Regions from separate parts of the Homo sapiens genome. Here regions 2, 3, 4, 5 and 6 are each linked to region 1. The links are contacts of gene promoters, found by promoter capture Hi-C in blood cells and fetal thymus (Javierre and others, 2016). All regions are on one chromosome and are shown on one strand. The core of a region is centred on a gene start or on the middle of the fragment in contact, and the rest is flanking DNA. Distances in the headings are between cores, read along the strand shown.

What was found. The method cuts DNA at HindIII sites, captures the fragments that hold promoters and counts their contacts. A CHiCAGO score of 5 or more calls a contact.
Region 2: a contact is called between a fragment that was not itself captured here and the fragment with the promoter of RAB32 in region 1, in 1 of 17 cell types (M1 macrophages). The highest score is 6.3, in M1 macrophages.
Region 3: a fragment that was not itself captured here is called in contact with the fragment with the promoter of RAB32 in region 1 in 3 of 17 cell types (endothelial precursors, M2 macrophages and monocytes); the score reaches 7.6 in endothelial precursors.
Region 4: a fragment that was not itself captured here is called in contact with the fragment with the promoter of RAB32 in region 1 in 6 of 17 cell types (M0 macrophages, M2 macrophages, M1 macrophages and 3 more); the score reaches 12.5 in M0 macrophages.
Region 5: a contact is called between a fragment that was not itself captured here and the fragment with the promoter of RAB32 in region 1, in 6 of 17 cell types (M0 macrophages, monocytes, endothelial precursors and 3 more). The highest score is 9.2, in M0 macrophages.
Region 6: a contact is called between a fragment that was not itself captured here and the fragment with the promoter of RAB32 in region 1, in 1 of 17 cell types (endothelial precursors). The highest score is 7.4, in endothelial precursors.

Annotation. Positions count from the first base shown.
Region 1 is chr6:146,541,447-146,545,759 of GRCh38, forward strand. It overlaps RAB32 (RAB32, member RAS oncogene family), which reads left to right and starts at 2,387. Exons shown (of 3, transcript NM_006834.5): 1 at 2,387-2,675. The coding sequence starts at 2,426. RefSeq lists a silencer at 1,961-2,340. The HindIII fragment of the contact is 5,944 bases long and covers 1-3,248 here.
Region 2 is chr6:145,889,124-145,893,436 of GRCh38, forward strand. It overlaps SHPRH (SNF2 histone linker PHD RING helicase), which reads right to left. Exons shown (of 30, transcript NM_001042683.3): 28 at 4,092-4,270. Among named protein-coding and RNA genes, the nearest start is that of SHPRH, 73 kb to the right of the region's middle. The HindIII fragment of the contact is 2,730 bases long and covers 1,068-3,797 here.
Region 3 is chr6:145,908,465-145,912,777 of GRCh38, forward strand. It overlaps SHPRH (SNF2 histone linker PHD RING helicase), which reads right to left. Exons shown (of 30, transcript NM_001042683.3): 25 at 1,984-2,172. Among named protein-coding and RNA genes, the nearest start is that of SHPRH, 54 kb to the right of the region's middle. The HindIII fragment of the contact is 1,302 bases long and covers 1,890-3,191 here.
Region 4 is chr6:145,927,788-145,932,100 of GRCh38, forward strand. The region is part of intron 14 of SHPRH (SNF2 histone linker PHD RING helicase); the gene reads right to left. Among named protein-coding and RNA genes, the nearest start is that of SHPRH, 34 kb to the right of the region's middle. The HindIII fragment of the contact is 2,290 bases long and covers 1,168-3,457 here.
Region 5 is chr6:145,971,367-145,975,679 of GRCh38, forward strand. No RefSeq gene overlaps it. Among named protein-coding and RNA genes, the nearest start is that of SHPRH, 9.2 kb to the left of the region's middle. The HindIII fragment of the contact is 1,359 bases long and covers 1,305-2,663 here.
Region 6 is chr6:146,015,289-146,019,601 of GRCh38, forward strand. No RefSeq gene overlaps it. Among named protein-coding and RNA genes, the nearest start is that of GRM1, 12 kb to the right of the region's middle. The HindIII fragment of the contact is 1,877 bases long and covers 1,161-3,037 here.

The sequences.
Region 1 (4,313 bases), core at 1,137-3,636:
TAAGGTGATGGGGTGCATCCCTCAACTTTATAGATAGAGAAAGCAAGGGGCTGTCCCCCATGTTTCTTCTTTAAAATAAAAACCCACAAGTCTACTACTTTCCAATCAATTTCCTATGATTTATCTTAGAGCATTTACATCTAATCCAAACACTACCAGATGAAGGTTGAAAAAGGATTGTTAGGGAAGTAAAGTAAGATGGCTTCAGAGTCCCTGTGTCTTCTTTCTCAAACTCCTTCCATAATTTAAATGCTAAAGCATGATAAGGTTTTTAATAGACTATTTTGTTGTGTGTGTGTGTATATATATATATATCTATATCTAAGGTATACGGCATGATGCTTTGATATACATAGTGAAATAGTTACTAGAGTTAAGCAAATTAACAAATTAACATGTCCATCATCTCACATAGTTACACAATTTTTTCTTTTCATTTTTTCTTTTCTTTTTTTTTTTTTTTTTTTTTGAGATGGTCTCACTCTGTCGCCCAGGTGGAATACAGTGGTGCGATTAAGCTCACTGAAGCCTGGACCTCCCAGGCTCAGGTAGTCGTCCCACCTCAGTCTTCTGGGTAGCTGGGACTACAGGTGGGTGCCACCACACCTGGCTGCAATTTTTTTTTAATGGTAACAGCACTTACAGTCTACTCTCTTAGCAAATTTCCAGTTTAAAATACAATATTATTAACTATAACGCTCATGCTACATTAGATCATTAGGACTCATTCATCCTATATAACTGCAACTTTGTACACTTTGACCTGCATCATTCCGTTTCTTCCCTGCCCCTGGTAACCACCACTGTTTCCACGTATTCCGTGTGTGTGTGTGTGTGTGTGTGTGTGTTTAAGATTCCACATATAAGTGATATTGCACAGTATCTTTCTTTTTGTGTCTGGCTTATTTCGCTTAGCATAATGTCCTCCAGGTTTATCCATGTTGTTGCAAATGTCAGGATCGCCTTCTAAAGGCTGAATGATATTCCATTGTGTGTGTGTGTGCGTCTGTGTATATGCGCGCGTGCATGCCTATGTATGTATTACAATTTCTTTATCCATTCATCGTTAACAGACACTTTGGTTGTTTCCAAATCTTCGCAACTGTGAATAATGCTGCATGAACTTGAGAGCGATTTCTGAGATCCTGATTTCATTTCCTTTGAGTATACACCCAGAAGAGGGATAGCTGGGTCACTGGCTTTAGCAACGATTTTTGCAATATCACACCAAAAGCCCAGGCAACCAAAGCAAACCTAGATAAATGGGACTTCATCCAACTAAAATGCTTCTGCACCGCATAGGAAATAATCAACAAAATGAAAAAACAGCCTATAGATTGGGAGAAAATATTTGTGAGCCATATATCTGATAAGGGGTTAATATCCAAAATACATTACGTTCACAGAACTCAGCCAAAATAAATAAATAAAACACCCAGTTAACTAACGGGCAAAGGATGTGAATGGACTTTTTTTTTTTTTCCAGAGGAAGTACAAATTGCCAACAGGTATAAGAAAAGGCGCTCAAAATCACTAATGAACAGGGAAAAGCCACTAGGTATCTCCTCACACCTGCTAGGATGACTGTTATAAAAAAGATAAGCGATAATAAGTGTCGGTGATGTGCGGAGCAAAGGGAACCTTGTACACTGGTGGTGGGAATGCGGACTGGAACAGCCATTATGGAAAACCCTACGGAGGTTCACTCAAAAAGTTAAAAACAGAACTACCAGCCCAGTGTTATCCGTCCTTCGTTAAGTTCAAAGTCACGGTGCCACTTCCTTTCCCATCTAAAGGGGACTGCTCGCGACCCAAGCCAAGGCCCGCAAGTGTGGCTCTCCCTGCGGGGAGAGTAGGGCAGGAGGTGGATTTCCAGGCCAGAGGCTTCCAGGCTGGGCCCGGACCCCACGCCGACCCCGGCCCCGGGGGGGGCTCAGCGACCTCGGCGCCTCCTCAGGCCCCCAGTGAACCTCCGGGGCCCATAAAGGCTCCAGGCCGGCTCCCCGGAGGCCCACCAGCGGGCGTCTGGGCCTCCCTCCGCGCCGCGACCGCCAGGAGGCGCCGCCCGGGAGAGGAAGTCCAGCTGGGCCCGGCCGGGCTTCGGAGGCGCCGCCCGGGAGAGGAAGTCCAGTTGGGCCCGGCCGGGCTTCAGAGGCGCAGGGCGGGAGCCGCCTCGCGCAGGGTCCTCCCCAAGCCGGCGCCAGGCCCTGCCCTCGTCCGGCCCTGCCCTCGTCTGGCCCCGCCCGGGCCGCGAGCACTGGCGGGTTCTGGGTCCTGTGACCGGTCAGGCGGCGTCAGCGGGCGCGGCGGAGGGCTGGCCGGCCTCGGGGGAGTTTCCGCGGCCGCCGGGGGCGCGGCGGCAGAGCGCGAGGCCGGGCAGGGGGCCAGACTCGGAGTCGAGGCGCGCCCGACAGCCGCAGCGCTCATGGCGGGCGGAGGAGCCGGGGACCCCGGCCTGGGGGCGGCCGCCGCCCCAGCGCCCGAGACCCGCGAGCACCTCTTCAAGGTGCTGGTGATCGGCGAGCTTGGCGTGGGCAAGACCAGCATCATCAAGCGCTACGTCCACCAGCTCTTCTCCCAGCACTACCGGGCCACCATCGGGGTGGACTTCGCCCTCAAGGTCCTCAACTGGGACAGCAGGACTCTGGTGCGCCTGCAGCTGTGGGACATCGCGGGTAAGCGCGGCCGCGAGTTTCCCACTCCAGAGCCCCGCCGGGCCGCCTGGCTCCTCTCTGCTTCTTTTCTTTTTCTTTTCTGCCTGAACTCGTCTGCCTGGGTACCTTTAGGAGAAGAGAGAGGCCCAATCCAAGGGCGAGATGCGATGGACGCGGTCGGCTGGACTCGGTGGGGCCCAGAGGATGGGATGGGCAGTAGGAGTTGGAGCAGGTCCTGCACGCCAGAGCTCGCTCTCCTGAAGGGAGGCGAGGAGGCCAGGGGGCCTTTTCCAGAAGTTTGAACTCTGAATAATGCAAGTATATCATACATACACCAGGACTAGTTGAGAAGGCTGCTTTGGAGCGGGCCGGCGCCTCTCAGCCTCAACTCAAGTTCAGAGGGATTGGGTGACTTAACCCGAAGCTGCACTCCTAGTTAGTGACACCACCAAGACCAAAAGCCAGGTTCCTTTCCAGATCATTTTCCACCACCCGCCTTGGCTCTGAGACTGGCCTTTGTGAGGGAAACTCCATTCCTCAAATACTTTGCTCTCATCGGAAGCCGAGGACAGACACTCCGTGAAGATTTGGGAAAGCTTTTCTGAAACCTTACACTCACCCCTTCCTCTCTTGCTAAACCAACACCTAGTCCCATCCCTGGTGCCCTCGCCCCCCCCCGCCCCCCCCCCACTCCTCAATACAGTGTTTCTCTGCCATTTGCTTTCATTTGTTCTGTTTGAGGGGGTACATTTCCCTCTGCTCTGATTTATGAACACTTGAACTTTGCCTGGTGTGGTGGTTGGGAGTGGGCGTTTTAAAGATGATGTTAACTATTGGAAAGTTCATAGAAATGGTACCAAGCCAAGTGCCAGTGGCTCACGCCTGTAATCCCAGCACTTTGGAAGGCCTAGACTGGAGGATCGCATGAGCACAGGAGTTCGAGACCAGCCTGGGCTGTTAGTGAGACCCTGTCTCTACAAAATACATACATACATATATACATACATACATACAAAAAATTAGACAAGTGTGGTCGTGCGTGCCTGTAGTCCCAGCTACTCAGGAGCCTGAGGCAGGAGGATCACTTGACCCTAGGAGAGGTCAAGGCTTCAGTGAGCTGTGTTCTCACTGCTGTACTCCAGCCTGGTCAACAGAGTGAGACCCTATCTCAGAAAAAAAAAAAAAAAGTACGAAAATTACTCTGTTCAATCATTACAGGTGTTAAGAAGCACAGTCTGCAGTACAGCATTAGAATGGGAGCTGGTTTAGGGTTAGAGGACACCTGAGGCCACCCTTCATTCTACAGTCCCTACACTGAAGCCCATGGAGGGTATAGCTACCTGGCTGGTAGCAGAGTGGTTGGGGGGATCACAGGTCTACTGTCTGTCTGCCAGGTAGTGCTCTTGTCATTTATAGCTTGTTACATAAGAAAGAGTAGTAAATAATTGTAACCTATAACTCATTCATTTAAGAGCACATTTCTGTCCCTCAGACAGGAGAATAACTGTATGCAACTCAGTTGCTCAGAAAAAAGGAGTAATCAGCCAGGGACTCAGCTTTTTGTTGTTGTTTTTTGTTACCAAAAACCAAAAGTTCGTTTGAAAAGTCATCTTTGAAGCCAGAAGTTTTTTCGAAACACTTCCTGCCGTTGCACAGAAC
Region 2 (4,313 bases), core at 1,183-3,682, 650 kb before region 1:
CAGGAGCTATATGGGCATGTCTGGGCTGGGGGATATACACCTGAGAGTCATCAACCTGTAAAAGCTACCTAAAGCCCTAAGACTGGAAAAATTCATCGAAGGGGTGTAGACAAAGAACCCTCAGACCACTGGCAAGAAGTAGGTCACTAGAAATGTTATAAGTCTCACTTCAGTGATATGGTGGGGAGAAAATCAACCAGACAGGTTGACAGAGAATGGGGGATAAAAAAGTAGAGATGGAGGTAGGATGTATCAGAGTGTTTTTTTCTTTCTAAAGATGGATAATATTAAGACATATTTATGGGGTAATATATGACAGGTTGAGTATCCCTAACCAAAAACCCAAAATCCAAAACTTTTTGAGTGCCAACGTGACAAGTGGAGGATTCAACACCTGACTTCACGTGATGAGTCACAGTCAAAACACATTAAAAACGTTGTTTTGTGCACAAAATTATTTAAAATATTATATAAAATCACCTTCAGGCTATGAGTAGAATTTGTATATGAAACATAAATAAATTTCATGTTTAGACTGGGGTTTCATTCCTAAGATATCTCACTATGTATATGCAAATATTCTAAAATCTGAAAAAATCCTACAGGCAAAACACTTGAAGCATTTCAGTTAAGGGATGCTCAACCTGTACAAGGGAAATGTACACCTGTCCTTGAAAAATGAGAAAGAATGGAGTCCAGGACAAATGAATGGATGGCTTTTGAAAGAAAAGGGACACTTCTGCTGTAATAAAAGGGAAGGCATATGAGGTACTTTCCTGCTTATTACTGGATGACATATCCATGCTTCTGCCTACTACCAACCCCTTCCTCCACTTCAGTGTTTGATCCCATATCCTCTTGCCTACTCAAGGACATTGTCAAGCATTCTCCCTGTTCTCCTTCACTAGTTTTTGTTGTCTCTAATGAATCATTTTCTTACTAATTCTCCCATTTGAAAGGAAAACAAAAACCTCTCTTGATCTCATTCTCTTCCTTTTCTCTGCAGCAAAACTCCTCAAAATACTGGCCTTACCAGCCACACAGAAGCAGCAGTGCACTGTGGTTAAAGCTTGTACTGTGAAGGCAGAATGGCTGTGCCTGAAATCTGCCACTGCTTCTACTAGCTGCCTGACTATGGGCAAGTTACCTAACCTCTCTTTGTTATACAAATATTTGTTAAATAAGAAATACACAAAATCCCATTTTCTCCAAAACTAAAGTCAGGCTGTCACCTCTACCACTTAACCTGGTTTTGATCTCCATGTTGCTAAATCTAATGATCAATTCTCAATCCTTATCTTCCTTGACATTTTTCATAGCACTTGAAACAGGTGACCATAACCTCTTCTTTGAGGTACATTTTTCACTTGGTTCCTAGGACACTCCTGTCTTCTGGTTTTCTTCCTAACTCACTGTTTGATCTTTATTTGTTACCTTTGCTGCTTCCTTCTCCTCTCCTAGAACAGCTGAACTTTGGTGCCCTGGAGTTCAGTCCATGGTCCTCTATCTAAACTCTGTCTCTATCTAAACTCACTCCTAGGTAATCTCATTCAGTCTCGTGACTTAATGGACTTGTACATCTAGTTACAGAATAGAAATCTCCATTTGGATGTCTGTTCTTCCCTTACCAAATCTGCTCTACCCTGTAGACTTCTCCAGCTCAGTTGAAGGTTACTTCATCCTTCTAGTTGTCCAAGCCAAAACCCATGGTGTTATCCTTGACCCTCTCATACCCCATGTCTAGTCTGTCCAAAAGTACTATCAGTTCTATCTTCAAAATATATCCAGAACCTGACCACTCCTCATCATGTGCACTGCTACTGCCATGGTCAGGTCACCTTCAGCTCTCACCAGGATGACTGCAATAGCCTCCAAGACTCTCCCTGCTTCTACTCTTCCTTGCTCCCCTTCACTCCCACCCTATCACAGCACTCAGAATGATTCTTTTAAAACTTAAGTGAGATATGCCAAGCCTCTGTTCAAAGCCTTCCAATGGCTCCCGATTTCACACAGGGCAAAAGCACCATCCTCACAGTGGCTTCCTGGGCCCAATGTAATCCCTCTCCCCACTGAGCCCATTCACTTCAACTCCTGCTTCTCTCCCTTTTAGCAACTGTAGCTCCTTGCTATTCTTCTAACATACCACACTCCTGATTTAGGGCCTTTGCACCGAAAGCACTGTTTACTTGAACATTCTTTCACAAGATAGCTGCATGACTAACTTTCCCATTTTCCCATTTCTTTCAAGTCCTTGCTCAGACTTTCTCAATAAGGCCTTGCATGCCTTCCTGCCCAAACATTGCACTTTTACTTCCTCACCCTGCTCTACTTTTCCAGCTCCTAACATAGTCCAGATTGTACTTAGTTTATTGTTTACCACCTTTCTGTCTACCAACCCCATTACAGCTAGAATCGCACTCCATGAGGACATCTCATGTTCCTAAAACAGTGCCTGGCACACAGAAGATACTCAATAAAAATCTACCAAAAAGTATGTGAGTACTGATGCAGGCAGACTGTTCAAGTTGATGATGGAAAGATGAGGTACTTCTAATCTGATTGTATATGTTTCCCCTGTATGAGGCAAGATCGCCATGGGGAGGAAGAAGACACACTTAAGACAGACTCCTCAGAAAGTAGAAAAAAACATATTGACTTGCGAGGCATAGTAAGATTGTTGGGTAATGCTGAATGGCCTTTTGGACTCGTGGTTTTAAATATGAGACTAGTCCAGCCTATGCTTTAAAAGAACATTGGTAGGACAAAAAATCAATATTTAAAAACACAGAAGAAAACCAACAAAAAACAAGTAAGACATGACTGCATTTTAAATGCCACTTGGTGGTATGTTAGAACAAGCCCGCATTTATTACAGTTACTTTGCCCTATTTGTTAAGAGGTTTAATAAACATGTCTCTTTCCTGTTTTCAAGTAAGCCCTTTATTTTCTCTCCCCGCTACTTCTTACGGGGCAGTCTACATTTCTGAGTATGACACAGAAGACTTCATCTCCTGCCGATGATCTCTTTCTCATACTTTATACTGCAACAATTCCAAACTCCTTACAGTCCCTAGAAATGTCATGTCATTTCCCACCATTGTATTTTTGCATATATAACTCTCTTTGGCTGTGTGAATACCCTTTTCCAGCCAACTTTGAAATAATTATTCCTTCAAGACTTAACACCATAAAGTCTTTCCTGACTCTGTAGGGCCCGAGTGATCATTATCTTCTTTTGTTAACACAGTCCTTTTATTATTATACTTTTGCACATTCTACCCCAACACTTTAAGTCATGCTTCCTGTACTACACAGTGACCTCCTTGGGGAAATAAATTATGTATCATTCAATTTGAATCTTCAGTATTTAGAATAATGCCTGACATACAGTAGGTGCTCAATAAATACTGATTTAGTAAGTGCTTATTATGGATGTGTTTTTTTTTCCTTTTTTAAACATCAAAGACTTCTAACATCCAGAAGGTAATACATTTAGCAGGCCTTATCAAAGATAACTGTCTATTCTGATATATGAATAAAGGTAATACATGCCATATAATAATATTCATTATTAGGTTTGCTTTGGGCCTTAAACTGAATCTAATGATCTCTTGGAGCTGACCTAGGGGGTGTCTTTTCCTAATGTTAAGAATTTTAAAAGGAGCCATTTATTTTCAGTCATGTACAAGGTATGTCTTCTTTTAAACACGGGACTACTTTAGACAATCAAAACTCCATTCTCCTCAAAGGCATGATGGATGCCTTCAACTTTGTAGCTGTCTTAAGTATTTCTAACAAGCTTTTTTTTGGATAAAGTGATAAGGTTTTTGTGGGAGGGAAGAAAAAAATTGGGACAATTTGGGGGTTTGCTTCTTGGAGAGAAGGGAGGGTTGGAAATCTCATGCCTTTCAATTAAATAATTAAAAAGTTATAAATAAATAAGTTATAAAATAAATAATTAAAAAATGTAGTATCTAAGGAAGTAATTAAAAACAAGTACGCTATGATGAACATAAATGAAGAGTTTAAATACTGATTTGGTTTCTCAGAAAACTGAAGCAAATGTGACTGATTCTAATTTTAGTCCTTACTTTGTCTGTCCAATTCGGTGCACCCTCCCTATGGCCTGAAGCTCATGGGCAGGGTTCAATATGGGCTCCACCAAGAGAACATGAGTTGCTTCAATGATAGTTAATCCATTAGAACCTGTGTGCAGGGGCAGCAGCAAAATATTGATTTGGGGATCACGTTTAAATGCTGAAAGGTTCTCCTAAAAAAGAAAGGTACATTTTAATTTTAGCTCGATCAGTTAA
Region 3 (4,313 bases), core at 1,291-3,790, 630 kb before region 1:
TGTGAGATGGTATCTCATTGTGGTTCTGATTTGCATTTCTCCGATGATCAGTGATGAACTTTTTTTCATGTTTGTTGGCCACGTAAATATCTTCTTTTGAGAAGTGTCTGTTCATGTCCTTTGTCCAATTTTTGATGGGGTTGTTTTTTTCTTATAAATATGTTCACATTCCTTGTAAATTCTGGATATTAGACCTCTGTCAGATGGGTTGATTGCAAAAATTTTCTCCCGTTCTGTAGGATGCCTGTTTACCGACGATAATTTCTTTTGCTCTGCAGAAGCTCTTTAATTAGATTCCCTTTGTCAATTTTGGCTTTTGTTGCAATTGCTTTTGGCATTTTTGTCATGAAGTCTTTGTCCATGCCTACGTCCTGAATGGTACTGCCTAGGTTTTCTTCTCGGATTTTTAGGGTTTTGGGTTTTACATTTAAGTCTTTAATCTATCTTGAGTTAATTTTTGTGTAAGGTGTAAGGAAGGGGTCCGGTTTCAGTTTTCTGCATATGGCTAGCCAGTTTTTCCAGCCCCATTTACCCAATAGGATCCTTTCCCCATTGTTTGTTTTTGTCGGGTCTGTCAAAGATCAGTTGTAGATGTGTGGTATTATTTCTGAGGTCTCTGTTCTGCTCCATTCGCCTATATGTCTGTTTTGGTACCATTCTGTTTTGGTTACTGTAGCCTTGTAGTATAGTTTGAAATCAGGTAGCATGATGCCTCCAGCTTTGTTCTTTTGTAGTGCTTATCACAATTATAACACATTATTTATTAACATCTGTGCTTCCTGCCCCAACTCAAACTCCTTCACCAATCTCCACAAAAGTAGTAACCATATCTGTTTTATTTATGTGTATGCTGTGTCTATGAGGCCTAGCACACTGCCTGTGTGCTAGTACGTGTCCAATATATATGTGTGGAATGAATGGATGAATGCTTATTCTAACTGTGGAATTCTGTTTATCCCAACAGACTAAAGAGCAATATAACTGATATTTTCAGGTTTTACTCAAATAACAGTGAAAAAAGAGCAATTAAAAGTTCTTTAATGCAGCTACAGTTTTCTTGGGAGAAGGGTACCCTAATAACTGCTTAACTACTGGTAGTGAATTTCAACTTGTAGCTGATTCTACTTAAAAAACACATTACTTAAAAGTGAGGAGTATCAAAAACTCAGAAGGAATTAATAAAGAATACTTCATCTTGCTTAAGAGTCAACCCCATCATTCTCTAATTCTCATTCTCTATTCCTTAAAGCCCACATTTGCTACTAAATTTAGATACCGATGTGTCCTTTGTTCAAGTTTGGTTAGAAAAAAAATATTAAAAAAGCATATTTAAGGAAAAGAAAGAGCAAAATAGTCTTGGCTTTTTATTAAATACCCCTTAAAAGCAGTAAATCCAATTACAGATCCAGTCTGGATATCACATTATAGTAATTTTCTTAAAATTCTGAATGAAGCATGGAAAAAAATTAGGAAAATAAAGCCAAAATTTGGCTTTATCCTGGAATATCAATCTATGCTGTTTAAAAAGCACATTACCCTCTTTCTTGTAGCTGTCTTCATTAGCCAATTTATTTTATCCTTCTGTTTAGTTAGACACATCCTTTTTTCCTTACATTCAGGGATGTGTAAAAGAATGAGGAAAACTCTTTCTTTAAATAAATCTCTAATGTAACCAGACCTCTGTCTACTTGTGGTGGATAGAAATATTATAGAGGATAGGAAACTGTAATTTTAAGATGTTACATTTTAGTCACAGTGTACATGACTATCGCTAACCATGTTTGAATAAGTGTTCTGTGTTCCTCCTACAATTAAAAATTACATGGTTAAGCTGAGGCTTTCAGGCAGTGTATCTACAGACAACAGTGGCGTCTACCTATTCACTGTCAAGCTTGTTCTGATGTTCATGCTTTCTTAATCAGATACTGCTTCCTATATTATATTGCCTTACCTATGCTTCTATGTGTTCCTGACCTACTTTACCTTCACAGGGATGTCCTCCTCCTGGTTTGCTTTCTCTGAGGTAAAGACATACGAGATTTCTTTGTGAGATGTGGTCTGGCGGCAGATTGCACACTTAATGGAGCTTCTGTGAGATCCCACGCTGTATTGTTCAATAATTATAGAAATGCATTCATTACAGAAACAGTGACCACAGGTCAGTACCGCCCACTAAAAAGAAAACAGAACAAGCCTTAGTGCTATCAAAGATGCCTTACAATTTATAAGCATATTAAAAAGAGATTCGCAATTTTTCCTCCTAAAGATTTCATAACATTAATATTCTTTGTCATAAAGCCAAGTTGTGCCTTCAAATTAATTTTTTATTCCAAAGTAAGTTTTCATAATCTTTAGTTCTGTTTATCCTAAAAGTGAGTATGATAGTCAGTCACCACTACTTTGTAGAAAGGTGGTGTTCTCATTTCTGTATTTGGGAAGAATGTAAATTAGTCCTTCAGCACTCTAACAACAGATATAACAGAGGGACTTAGAATATTAATTTGGAGATAATATCATACTCGATATGTTCCATTTAATTTAAAAAACAGATTTATATTTTCACACATTAAAGCACTTATATAGAAAATAATATGGGATAGTATCTCAAATTTATTTTGAAAATGGTTCTGGTTATTTAAAAAATTACAAACAAAAAGAAATTATTATTATTACTATTATTTTTTAGACATTCTTGCTCTGTCGCCCAGACTGGAGTGCAAATGATGCGGTCTTGGCTCACTGCAACCTTGCAACCTCCACCTCCAGGATTCAAGCAATTTTCCTGCCTCAGCCTCTTGAGTAGCTGGGATTACAAGCACCTGCTGCCACGACCAGCTAATTTTTGTATTTTTAGTAGAGAGGGGTTTCACCACACTGACCAGACTGGTCTCGAACTCCTGACCTCATGATCCATCCACTTCGGCCTGGGATTACAGGTGTGAGCCACCGCGCCCAGCCAAAAAGAAATGTTTAAGAAACCCCTTGTCCTATTCGGGAAAAATAAAATAATCCTCTCTGAATCTCTGCAACATACCATGGAGACTTTTGCCCTCTTTGGCAACGAGAGACGTAAGAACAATAGATTTAGTCTAGGTGTAAGTTCTAAAAGCTATGGCATCTTACAAATGTAGTTTTAACCGTTTTCATCTGGTAAAAACAATAAGAAAAACTGAGTGTCTTTTGAGTGACAAAGCTTCTAAATCCTTAAGCTATGTTTTTTTTAAGATTTGGACATGTATGGAAAGAAAGTGCGTACCTGGCCCACTTGAGATTCTTTGCTGGATCATCTAAGATGCTCTTTGGAAAAGAACTCACATTGAAAGAAGAGAAAACTGAGGTATATAAGCTTGGTTTTCAAACCACTATTTTGCCTATTAACAGCTAATACTATTCCTACTGTTCTCTAGCTGCACCTCTGCCAGAGTCCACAGGAGTTGAGACTAATGAAATTGAAGAGCTGTTTTACTAGCATTTTTGTATGACACAGAGCAGCACTATATTGTACTTTATGTACCTCTAGTGCCACTGGGGTACTCTACTGGAAAGGAGTTTTGTGACTCACTAGAGCTCAAAATGGACCAACTAAACATCAAGACAGGTCCACCTACATGTGCAATGGAGAAGAAGCAACGAGATACCTGGCACCTGACCATTAGGAGTGACAGGAAGCTGACTGACCCAAACAGAAGAGACAAATGGCAATGCCTCCAGGTGCATCAGCTGGTACATATGGGTTAACTCTGATAGATTCTAATTTAATAGCCCTAAATTAGAAGGGGGGAGAACTGGGGATCCAAAAAGGAAAAAAAAATACGGCTACTATATATTGTAAGTATGAACAGAGCTTGAAAAGTATTTTTATTACTATTATTGAAATCCAATATGGTCTTCCAAGTGCAGGAAACCTAGGTTATGCTAGAATTAAATGAACTAATGTATATGAAAGAACTTTAAAAACTGAAAATGTTTAAGACAAAATGAAATATCTGAGACAGTCCAGTTGTATAAATCTTATCAAAACTAAAAGCAAAAAATACTACTTTATGTCATGATTTCTTCCATTTTTATCACAACTTTTATCAGTTTCATCACTGACTTTTGTCAGAAGTAACCAGCATTTGTACAGTACTATTTTGCTCAGTTTCCAATGTAGTATCTCTCCCTTTAAGATGTATTAGCAAATAAAGTATTCTTGTGATCTCACCTTCTCCACCAATCTTAGAAACCAAAAGGTACTTTCTTCTTGATTATTACTGGTCAGAATATGGAATGCATATATTTACCTTTCAACTCTCAGTTCCATAGAAAAAAAC
Region 4 (4,313 bases), core at 1,063-3,562, 610 kb before region 1:
CCAAATAATTTGCAATTAAAAACTTCATGTCAGAAACTCAGGGATCTCCCTCTTCTTCTGGTCACACAAATCATGGTCTGAGATGTATGCTGTTTTCTACTGTTCATAATCAGCACCTCATTCAAATAAAGCAATTCAAAAAGTATCGATTAAAGCACAGTCTGGCAAAGTATGGCCCATGGGTCATTTCTACCCTCTGCCTATCTGTTGGGCACATCAGCTTAGAATGAATTTTACATTCTTAAATAGTTGAAAAAAATTCAAAAAAAATATTTCGTGACATGTGAAAATTAAATTTCAGGGTCCATAGTTTTATTAGAACCTAGCTCTGCTCATTTGTTTTTATACTGCCTGTGGCTGCTGTTGTACTACAACAGCCAAGCTGATAGTTGCGCAGAGATCTTATGGCTTGCAATGCCTATGTATTATCTGCTTCTTTACACAGAAAGTTTGATGATATCTCAATAAAGTAAGAGATGAACATTTTTAATGGCTTGAATAATAGAATCTATCTTAACTGCTGCTTGTAAAATTCAAGACAGGTAAATTATAAATACTATTAAAGTAAAAACCTAACACTGGCAAAACCATGCAATCCATACCAAAAAAAGGTACAAGATGTTCTAGCTTTTATTTGCTGAGAAAGTTTTTTTCCTAAGTATCACACATACTTTCTTTTAAAAAAAAACTTCAAGCTGGTTTTATGAATATCATGTAATTAGGACCATGTTCATAGTTACAATGAGATATATATATATATGCAAACCTTTGTAAATTTTGAAGTTGGTTCTGTTTTTAGCTCATATATAAGTTTACATACATATCTTGATTTTGGTAAAATATACATAAAATTTACCATCTCAGCCCTTTTTAAGTGTGTAGTTCAGTGGCATTATGTATATTCAGTGTTGTGCAAAACACCTAATTTAAAATAAATTTTGCAACAATAGCTCTTATACCATTGCTTTATATCTAGTTCTATTAGTTAGCTAATACAAAGCTTTCTAAAACACACATTATCAAAGAACTGTAGTCAGCCAATTTCTATTCCCTTTAAATAAGGGAGAAGATTATTTTCACAATAATAAAGTTACTTTATAACGTAGGCATTAACATTCAATTATCTTCACAGTGAGTTCTCTTTTTTTAGTTAAGAGTCTTGATTAAAGCTTTTCAAAGGACATTATGAATTCTATCAGTATTTATACTACCATTTGTAGAGAATAATTCAATTAACAATTTTCTCTTCATAATTACCATACCTTTTAAAGAAGGTATAGTGATTAAACTATAATGTAAAGCAGCTGAATTTTATCTATTCGTTATAATACCTGGTTTTGCATGTTTATTTTTAAAAAGACATGCTTTCTGAGGAAGATTAAAAAAAAACCCATATTCAATGTTATAAAGGTTTAAGTCAAATTTGGAAATACCCATTCTCAGCCACTTGATGGCGCTAACATTTCTAAGAAAACTGGTGGATTTGATATTGTCAAGCTAATTTTCTCCGAAAATCATCTGCAGAAAACACAATGTTCAAAATTGGAATAATAAAATGTGTTTAATACCAGTCAAGGAGAATCTCAGAATATGTATTAATGTATCATACGTATTTATTTACATATAATATAAGCAAATCTTTTTAGAGTTTGAAATTAATTTTAGATTTCTTTTAAAAGTCAGACCTTCACTGTCTGATCTTCACATTAGAAGAATCTAATTTATGTAAGTTATATATGTAATGTTACTTTAAAAAATGAATATTGTTTAACACATTACTATGAAGTTAATAAAAACTAAAAGCAGCAAATCTATTACAATTAAGTTGAAAATTACAATTCAGAAGGAACATATCCTCTATTAATGGACTTTCTGGTGGCGGATTTCTCTTAATAATCAACAATACACTGCTAGCTAAATTGAGGACTTTCTAGGGAATGCCCTAGAGGGAAGATTTGCACACAAAGTTACGTGTACTATATGTGAACAATTTAACACGAATATATAATAATAGGCCCTTTTCTATTAGATATTGATAACAGAATTTACATTGTGAGCAGGTTGAAAGTGGTAAGAATCTGAGGTAACCTTCATATTACCATAACCAATAACATCATTCTTCATCTCTGTTTTTATAACGTTTTCAATGTGCTTCTACATTTTGTATTAAGAACAATAGTTGAGGTAAGTAAAGCACCTGTAATATTTTATTGACAAAGACACTGAAGTTCGGAAATCTTGAACAATATATACCATTTCACAGGGTTCCAACTGCAGCATGTAAGTAGGCCCACCCTATTCAGTTCTTGTCTAGAGCTATTTCTGCTCAGCTTCTGAGAATCCTTATAACTCTACCCAAGTATCTAGCACAATAAGAGACACTTTCCATTTCTGGTTCTATTATGCTAAAGAGCTAACAACTACAGACGGGCTACTCAAAGAGGCTTAATGTAAGAAGATTTATATTCTACAAAAAGCACACATTTCTTTGGGCAACTGATTTCTTTGTACTTCATTTGCTCTTTTTTTTTAAATTTCTTAAGGTAGCAGCTGAAGTCTCCGATATGAAACTTTTTTCTTTTCTAGTACATGTTTAATGCTATGAATTTCTTTTTAATAACTGATTTGCTGCATCCCACAAATTTTGATATTTCATTTTTATTCACTTCAAAGTATCTCCTACTTTCCCTTTTATTTTTTAACCCAAAGGTTTAGAAGTGTGTTATTTAATTCACAGCATTTGCGGACTTTCCAGTTTTCCTTCTGTTATTGGTATCTACCACTGTGGGCATAGAACACACTCTGTAAGCATGAATCCTTTGAAATTTACTGCCTTGTTTTACAGCCCAGAATATGCCCTATCTTCATATACATTTAATGTGTACTTGAAAACAATGTATATTCCTCTTTGGTTGGGTAGTCAATAAACACTGATTAGGTCAACTGGTTGACAGCGGTGTTTGAACTATGTATGCCCTCACTTATTTTTTACTTATTCTATACATAACTGAGAGAGGGATGTAGAAATCTCTGACAATAATTACGCACTTGTTTATTTCTCGTTATAATTCTATCAGTTTTTAGTATTTATTTTGAAACTCTTGTTTTAGGTACGTTAATATTTAGAATTTTTTTCTCTAGTGATAAAGTAACACCCTTTATCCTTGGTAATATTCTTTGCTCTGAAATCTACTTTATAAGTTCCAGTGGTACAATCAGTTAGCAGGCAGTATTAATAAGAAATCTGTTTTACTTGATAGAAATATAGTGGCTTTATCGTTCTTTTGATTAGTGTTAACATATCTTTTTTCATCCTCTTACATTTGCATCTTTAAATATAAAGTAGGTTTCTTATAGAGAACATATTGATGGTTATTGTTTGTTTTTAATCCAGTCTGACAATCCAGGCCTCTTAATTGGGATATTTAGACCATTTCAGTTTACGTGATCACTGATAAGCTTGTTTTTAAATCTACCATCTTGCTGTTTGTTTTCTAATCATCTCATTTGTTTTTTGCACCCTTTTTTCTTTTTTTTGAAGATTTTTAATTTATTATTTATTTATTTACTTATTATTATTTTTGAGATGGAGTCCTGCTCTGTAGCCCAGTCTGGGGTGCAGTGGTGCAATCTCAGCTCACTGCAACCTCCGCCTCCGGGGTTCAAGTGATTCTCCTGTCTCAGCCTCCCAAGTAGCTGGGACTACAGGCGCATGCCACCACACCCAGCTAGTAGAGACGGGGTTTCACCATGTTGGCCAGGATGGTCTCCATCTCCTAACCTTGTGATCTGCCTGCCTCGGCTTCCCAAAGTACTGGGATTACAGGCACAAGCCACCGTGCCTGGCCTGATTTTTTATTTTTTCTTTTTATCTATTCTTTTGGATTATTACCTCTAACTCCTTGTTGTATGTTGAAGTGGTGGCTGTAGGGTGCACATTCTTTGCCTTGTCACACACAGTCTACCTTCATATAATATTATACCTCTTCATATATAGGATAATAATCTTACAATATTATACATCCACGTCTCCCCACACAGACTTTGTATCATTGCTTTTACACATTGTACATTTACATGATATAAAACCCACAATATATTTCTTTTTTTTTTTTTTCCTTTGGGGACTCCAATACATTTATATTAGGCCATGTGAAGTTGTCCACAACCTCACTGAGGCTCTTTTCAAAATTTTCAGTCTTCTTCGTTTTTCATGTTGGAGAGTTTCTATTGCTATTCTATACTTTGACTTTATTGATTTTTTTCTTAGGCGGTGTCTAATCTTCTATTTATTAAGTGAATTTTCTATATTA
Region 5 (4,313 bases), core at 734-3,233, 570 kb before region 1:
TTAAATAGGGAATCCTTTCCCCATTGCTTGTTTTTGTCAGGTTTGTCAAAGATCAGATAGTTATAGATATGCAGCATTATTTCTGAGGCCTCTGTTCTGTTCCATTGGTCTATATCTCTGTTTTTGTACCAGTACCATGCTGTTTTGGTTGCTGTAGCCTTGTAGTGTAGTTTGAAGTCAGGTAGCGTGATGCCTCCAGCTTTGTTCTTTTGGCTTAGGATTGATTTGGCGATGTGGACTCTTTTTTGGTTCCATATGAACTTTAAAGTAGTTTTTTCCAATTCTGTGAAGAAAGTCATTGGTAGCTTGATGGGGATGGCATTGAATCTATAAATTACCTTGGGCAGTATGGCCATTTTCACGATACTGATTCTTCCTACCTATGAACATGGAATGTTCTTCCATTTGTTTGTATCCTCTTTTATTTCACTGAGCAGTGGTTTGTAGTTCTCCTTGAAGAGGTCCTTCACGTCCCTTGTAAGTTGGATTCCTAGGTATTTTATTCTCTTTGAAGCAATCGTGAATTGGAGTTCACTCATGATTTGGCTCTCTGTTTGTATGTTATTGGTGTATAAGAATGCTTGTGATTTTTGCACATTGATTTTGTATCCTGAGACTTTGCTGAATTTGCCTGTCAGCTTAAGGAGATTTTGGGCTGAGACGATGGGGTTTTCTAGATATAGAATCATGTCGTCAGCAAACAGGGACAATTTGACTTCCTCTTTTCCTAATTGAATACCCTTTATTTCCTTCTCCTGCCTGATTGCCCTGGCCAGAACTTCCAACTCTACGTTGAATAGGAGTGGTGAGAGAGGGCACCCCTGTCTTGTGCCAGTTTTCAAAGGGAATGCTTCCAGTTTTTGCCCATTCAGTATGATACTGGCTGTGGGCTGGTCATAGATAACTCTTATTATTTTGAGATACGTCCCATCAATACCTAATTTATTGAGAGTTTTTAGCATGAAGAGTTGTTGAATTTTGTTAAAGGCCTTTTCTGCATCTATTGAGATAATCATGTGATTTTTGTCGTTGGTTCTGTTTATATGCTCGATTACATTTATTGATTTGCATATGTTGAACCAGCCTTGCATCCCAGGGATGAAGCCCATGTGATCATGGTGGATAAGCTTTTTGATGTGCTGCCCGATTCAGTTTGCCAGTATTTTATTGAGGATATTTGCATCGATGTTCAACAGGGATATTGGTCTAAAATTCTCTTTTTTTGTTGTGTCTCTGCCAGAAATCTTACTCATAATAATCTTAACATAAAATGATGCTTGCCAGAAAATGAAGAACCTTTCCAAAGCTTCCGTCCACTAGCAGGGCAGCGCCATGCTCTGACTTCCACATTTGTGTGTTGTTTAGGTCACCTTGGGACAATGACAAAATTAGATCTGAATTCCATTTCCTTTAAGCCCTGTTAAATTTCTGAACTCCTCATTAGGCCTTTAAATAAATTTAAATTCTTAAATATTTTTAAATACCACACAATAATAGTATATAATTACTAATTATGTTATTTTGTCTGTTTGTTCATTTGTTTTTTAGGATGGGGTCTCACTCTGTCTCCCAGGCTGGAGTGCAGTGGCGCAATCTCAGGTCACAGCAACCTCCGCCCCCTGGTTTCAAGCGATTCTCTTGCCTCAGCCTCCTGAATAGCTGGGCTTGCAGGTGCGTACCACCACACCTGGCTAATTTTTATATCTTTTAGCAGAGACAGGGTTTTGCTATGTTGGCCAGGCTGGTCTCGAACTCCCAACCTCAAGTGATCTGCCTGCCTGGGCCTCCCAAAGTGCTGGGATTATAGGCGTGAGCCACTGCACCCGGCCTAATTATGTTCTTATGCCATAACACCCCCATGTTGACTATGAGCTCCTGGGAGTTCATTTTTAAAAAATTAACCAAACCATCCAACCATCTCAGGTAACTCCAGTGAAACCAATACAGAGACAGATGTTTGGGAACCACTTGAGCAGATAATCTCCAGCTTATGAACTAATTGATTCCTGGTTGGCTAAAAAACTGAGCTTATGTAAATCAAACCCTTATTTCTTGTAGCCACAGTGTTATAAACTGGGACTTCATTCCTGGAAATCTGTTTCATACCTTTAACATACCAAAAGTGTCATGAAAATAAATAGAAAAAAACCTCCACAAATACAGGTGTTAACAACCGTATCTTAAGTACATGAAACAAAACTCCTAATTGGAAAATATATCCTAAATAATGTTTTGAGAAAATTTTCAGCATTGATTAAAATGCCTGAAGTGTCTTAAAACATGATTTCAAAGAAGTTGGGACTGAAGATGCCTTTTTTGAAAAATAAATATTTCAGAAATGAGTATTTTTAGATATTCTTCATGTTCCCAAATACTATTGAATTACCTTAAAATTTGGAGACCTCTGAATTACTCAGCCTTTTGAGTAATTGTTATTTTAATGAAGTCTTCTCTAGCTATATAATATGGTTCTCTATTTTTTGACAGTACTGATTTTTTGAAATGATATTTCTCTTGTCCAGAAGGAGAAGAATGTAGCTAAGAAGACAAATTAAAATGTAATTGTCCAATGGGTTCAAACAGAATGAATTGACAAGGAAAACAATTCACCAGTTGTGTTGTGCTGATGGGAATCACTTTTCTGGATGGGTCAGACAACGTAAAGCTTTCTAATTTTCCCAAATGATAATAAAGAGATTTGGGTGCCTCAATTATTTCCCTCCTTTCCTGTGGGGTACTGTAAATATAATAGTTGTGAGTTCATGAAGTAAAGGTGAGTTGCAGAAGTACAGACCAAAGGAGTTTCCTTTGGATTCACATCATTTAGGGCTCTTTTTTTTCGCTTACAAATAGAAAAAGCATACAGAGGCCGGGTGCAGTGGCTCACGCTTGTAATCCCAGCACTTTGGGAGGCTGAGGAAGGCAGATCATGAGCTCAGGAGTTTGAGACCAGCCTAGCCAATATGGTGAAACCCTGTCTCTACTAAAAATACAAAAAAACCTAGCTGGGCATGGTGGTGCGCACCTGTAGTCCCAGCTACTCGGGAGGCTGAGGCAGGAGAATCACTTGAACCCAGGAGGTGGAGGTTGCAGTGAGCCGAGATTGGGCCACTGCACTCCAGCCTGGACAATAGAGGGAGACTCCGTCTCAAAAAAAAAAAAAAAAAAAAAAAGAAAGAAAGAAAGAAAAAGAAAAAGGATACAGAATCAGACCCTTGTCCAAGACACTGAAATTTAATGGGGAAAATCATAAAGACAAATTTTATCACAGTGGTTATATATTCTGCAATACATGGGGTGAGTATTGAGTATTTCCTAGCCAAGGGCATAGTTCTCAAATTTCTAGTAGAATGAATCAGACTCTGCAGACAGGTTAAAAATCTTTGTCCCAACACTTACTAGCTGCATTTCTTTGGACAACTCATTTCTCTTTTTGAGTCACAATTTAAAAAGTATAATTGGAATAGAAACACCTTCTTTAAGCTTATTGTGTACTGTATGCACATTTGCTCATATACAAGGTGGAAATTTTTTTGCAATTTTCAGAGCTGAAGCTCAGGAAAGCAAGAAAGAAAACGTCTCATGGTCAGGGGTTTTCAACCTCAGTGTTACTGACATTTCGCATGAGATAATTTGTTATGATGGGCTCCCCTGTGCATTGCAGGATGTTTAGGATCATCCCTAGTCTCTACCCACTAAATGCCAGTAGCAACCCCCGACCACAGTCATGACCATCAAAAATGTCCCCAAACACTGCCAAACATCCTCTGGGGGATAAAATCGCCTCTGGTTGAGAATCACTGAGCTAGATACTTGTATCTTTGAATCCTCAGTACCTACCAGATTACCTTGCAGACAGTAGGTGTTTAATAAATGTTTGTGTTAATGTAAGTGTTCACAACTGGGTTTTATTGGTAGGTAAATATCACTGATATAGACTTTGAAACTTTCATCTTTGGATGGAATATTCAGATGCTTTAGCATCATGTCCACTCTTTAAATAAAATTTGTCTAAATTATACTTATCTTTTCTAAACACATCTTGATAAGTGAAATGAGCTTATTTACTCTTTTCGTATGCTTTTCTTGTATATTTCTTAATGTTTCATATTTACTCATTAAGTTATATGATAGATACTGTGATGATTTATTTTCTGTACCTCAGCCAATGCCAATAATAATCCATACAGTGCAACCAACTTTGATGTAATTTCACATGTATGACATGACTTCATTTAAAGATTTTCTTTTCATAAGTTACTATAATTATGTCAATTTAAAGTTTTTATAAAGCTGGCATCTTTTTAAAAAAT
Region 6 (4,313 bases), core at 849-3,348, 530 kb before region 1:
AAATATTGGGAACAAATTATTTGGTCTATTTGGATTTGTACACGTACTGCATATATCACAAGTCTCCCTATACAGGTATTAATATATCTCAGCAGCATTAGTACTGATAACTTCATTTTCGAAGTTGGAATGTACCTTAGTTCATGTAATTTCACTCTTGTACAATGTTTAAATTACTTAATTAATTTTGGCATTTATTTTTTATTTATCCTGCAGCTATACCAGCATTTATATTTTCTTATCTCTTTATGGGAATATCAATTGATAGGTTAATCTACTGATGGACTGATTGATTTTCTGCAGTCTTTCCCAACACATTCTCCAATGGTAGTTGAAGACATTATTGGGAGTTACAGGACTTGAATTAGGAATCATGACCTATAAAACTTGTGTATTCCATTAATGTCTCCATTACATTTGCTTTTTTTGCTTCCTGCAATAAGAGAACAATTTTCATCTAAAGCTTGAATTGCCTCAGGAATGCGATAAGAGTTAATCTCATTCACACTAATAGGGAAGAATAAGGGGAAACAGTTACAGATTTTTTTTAAGGTCATTTTTAAATATAATATAATCTCAATCAAAATTTAAAATGGGGATGTCCTATGTAACCAATGCTTGCTAGAGTTGAATCAGTAGAAATAAAAATCTCTCAGAGAGCATTGGCCCTATTTCCTTAAGATGGTCACTCCCCCATAAAGATGTTATAGTTGCTCACTTTTACTGTTGCAGATACACGTACTGAATTTGACATCTACTAATCAGAAGACAAAAGAAGTCTGAATTTACCTTGTAATCCCTGGGCCACAGAAGAATACTGTCAGGACTATTTTAAAGTCTTTCTCCAAGCTGTGTTGTGGACTAAATTTACCTTCCCTTCTATCCTTGGGGACATTGGTCGTTCAAATCAGGGCACTTTTGAGAGTGAAAGGGAGTGCTACAAAATAAAGCCATGAATGAATCTATAAGAGGTATACACTGAATCTGTTCTGGGCAAACCAGAACATAATTCTGTCCAAAGTAGAAGCCTCTTCTGTTATTAATTATCTCCCATATTATCTTCTGAGAGCTATGAATATGAGCTACACTGGCTCAAATTCCACCCTGATCCTCTCAAACTCTTCTAAAACACATTTTAGATTATAAATCCATGATCAACAAGCTTTCTTCACTCTGTTGTAGTGGTCTCGTCCACTAAAAAGCTGATCAGACACTTCAATGATCATTTGACATTCATCTGTGATACTTACTGCAGGGTACTTTGGCTTGGCTTTTCCCTTAAGGACCCTCAGTATAAGTATAGTTTATCTTTCCTTTGGACCCATCAGATTATCCAGAGAAGCATCTTCTAACTGCCTTCACAGAAGGTATTAATGTAGTTGCTAATTCTCACTAAGATGAATAGGGGAAGAGGGCAGAGAAGTGGATGTAATCATTAGTATTTGAGCATTCATTTAATCTCCTTGTTTTCAGTATGACACCACCACACTCAGCTGTGCCTGATGTCTCCTGTGCAGGCACTCTTTGTTTTACCCTATCCAGAGAAGAGATTTCTACTCCTGGGAGTAGGAGAGTTACTTGGCTATATGGAGTCAGTGAGGCAATCTGAGGATCTATTTGTTTTTCAAACTTCCAACCAATTCTCTTATTTTTGCCTTCATCCTGACCTCTACTTTTAGAGGTAGCTGATGCTACCAATTTCTTTTATCTTTTTGAGATGAAGTCTCATTCTGTCACCCAGGCTGGAGTGCAGTGGCGCGATCTCGGCTCACTGTAACCTCTACCTCCCGGGTTCTAGTGATTCCCCTGCCTCAGCCTCCAGAGTAGCTGGGACTGCAGGTGCTTGCCACCATGTCCGGCTAATTTTTGTATTTTTAGTAGAGACAGGGTTTCACCACATTGGCCAGACTGGTCTCGAATTCCTCACTTGTGATCCGCCTGCCTCGGCCTCCCAAAGTGCTGGGATTACAGGCGTGAGCCACCGTGTCTGGCGCTACAAATTTCTTAATGTGGTTTCTATGATATAACTGAAATTGCTTATGAATTTTCTCACTGCCAACCTAGAATTCACCTTGCTTGAATCTTCTCAAGCAGTCACCTTTTTATCATATGTGTTTTTGGCTTACTTTTCCCCTGTTTTCTGATTTCCTTTTCTCTTTACCTTATAGATTCAAGCCTTAAAAACCTCTTCATTATCATTTTAATGACAATACAATAAATTTATTAAGGGAACAAAAGTAAATGAATATGTTTGATTTTTCTTCTTTTTCCAGATTCAAACAGCATTTTAAAATTAGATTATGTTTTACTACTTATTAGTATTTAGGAATGCAGTCAGTTTGGTATATTGGATTTATATGTAGAACCTCTGCTGAACTCTCTTGTTAATTCTAAAAATTAGTCTGTAAAGTCTCTTGGGTTATTCTGTATCCAATTCAGTATTCAACCCACCCCAGTCAGTCTTCCACTCCCAACACTTGACCAAAATTGCTCTTGCTAGGGCTACCAATTTTCCCTATTTTGCTAAATCCAGGGCATTCTTTTCTGTTGTAATTTTAATTGGTGCATTTCAGCAACATTCCATACAACTTACTCATTCCTTCTTCTTGAGGTTCCTTTTCTTCTTGACTTCTTTAGCATCTTATTCTTCCAGTTTCTTTTCTGTTTCTTTGGATGCTTGGTCCCCTTTGATGGATTCTCTTCCTTTAGCCACTTGGAGTTCCTTATTTTGTTCCTTGGCTCTGTTCTGCTATCATTGTTGTCATCACTATCACTCACAGCAACTGTCATTGACATCATTACTAATATATAATTAGCTGTCACAACTGCCACTACCCTTTCAGATTTCTAATCCTTTGAGCTTGAAAAACCAACTCTACAAATTTCCCAATTGTTCAAGCAATTGACAAATCTACAGGCATATCATGACTTGTAGGGTAGGAAAAACAAGGTTTAAGCCCAAATATGTTAATTACAATAAATGCAAAACCTCTGATAAATTCTTATATTTTAATCATCAAGAGTTATTCTAGTAATAAGCTTACTTCAAAGTTTCAGTCTGGGTTATAGGTGGCTAACTAAACTAGACAGTATGGTTTGGTTAGGTCAGACAGAATCAAAATGGATAATTCACAACTATATTAATTATACAGCATCATGTATTGATTATTAAATACTTATATGGTGAACTGGGTTGGCTGGTTTGATTATTCTAAGGCAATCTAGTAGAAATCCAACATATCTGGGTGGTTGAAAGGGTCTTATTCAAGTATAAAAAATAGCTTTATTATTAAGCCTGCAAAGCAATTATTTCATTAAAATTTGAACCTTAGTGAACTTTAGACCTTTTTCAACAAGATACTACCTTCTCTATCACCAAAGAGCATCATTGTCCTTATATAATAATAATAATAATTATATCTGCCATTTATATTGAAAATGATCAGTCTACTAAGCACTTCCATTTAATTCTCAAAATAACTCTATCAGGATAAGCATGATTATTTCCATTTTATTGAGGAAAGTGGGATTTAGAGATGCTGTCACTTTCTCATTTGTTTTCAGTATGACACCACCACACTCAGCTAAGCCTGATGTCCCCTAATAAGTTATGTTCATAATAAGTTATGGAGCTGGGATTCAAACATAGGTCTGATCTGACTGCAATCATAGATCTGGTCTGACTGCAAAGTTACTTGAAACTTTGAAGTAAGCTTATCACTGTATACATATATATATATAGTGCATATATGTGTTTGTGTGTATATGTGTGTGTGTATGTGTGTGTGTGAGCGAGAGAGAGAGAATATTTTCCACTTAATCTTTTATAGCTAAATTTTCTATTAGGGTCCCCACTTGCTTGTATTTTCCTTCTGAATTAATATCTATCATTTGATCGTAATTTTGTTTCTTGAAAATAACCTAAATTTCTTGGTAATCTTATGGGCACATGTCATAAATGATACTGACACAATTTTCTTCTTGGAATAAAATTTTTAATTTTGGGCATTTATAGAAGTATGATTCTAAATCTCAAACAATAATTACCATTTGTGTGAAGAATCATGTGCATCCATGCAACTGTGTATGTGTGTACATATGTACGTGGTTGCAGTAATTCTTGTTATAGTACACATAGTGGTAAATAAATATAAAGGCATTCAGATGTTTAAAAAGCATTGTAAGATGCATTTGCTCTGTTTCCTAATTCTCATGCCCTGCAATCTTGTTTCCAATGCTATTCCTCCTTATAAAAGTGATTTGATAATATCAGACAGGCTACATTTTGATAAATTTAATGAACTATTTTTAGT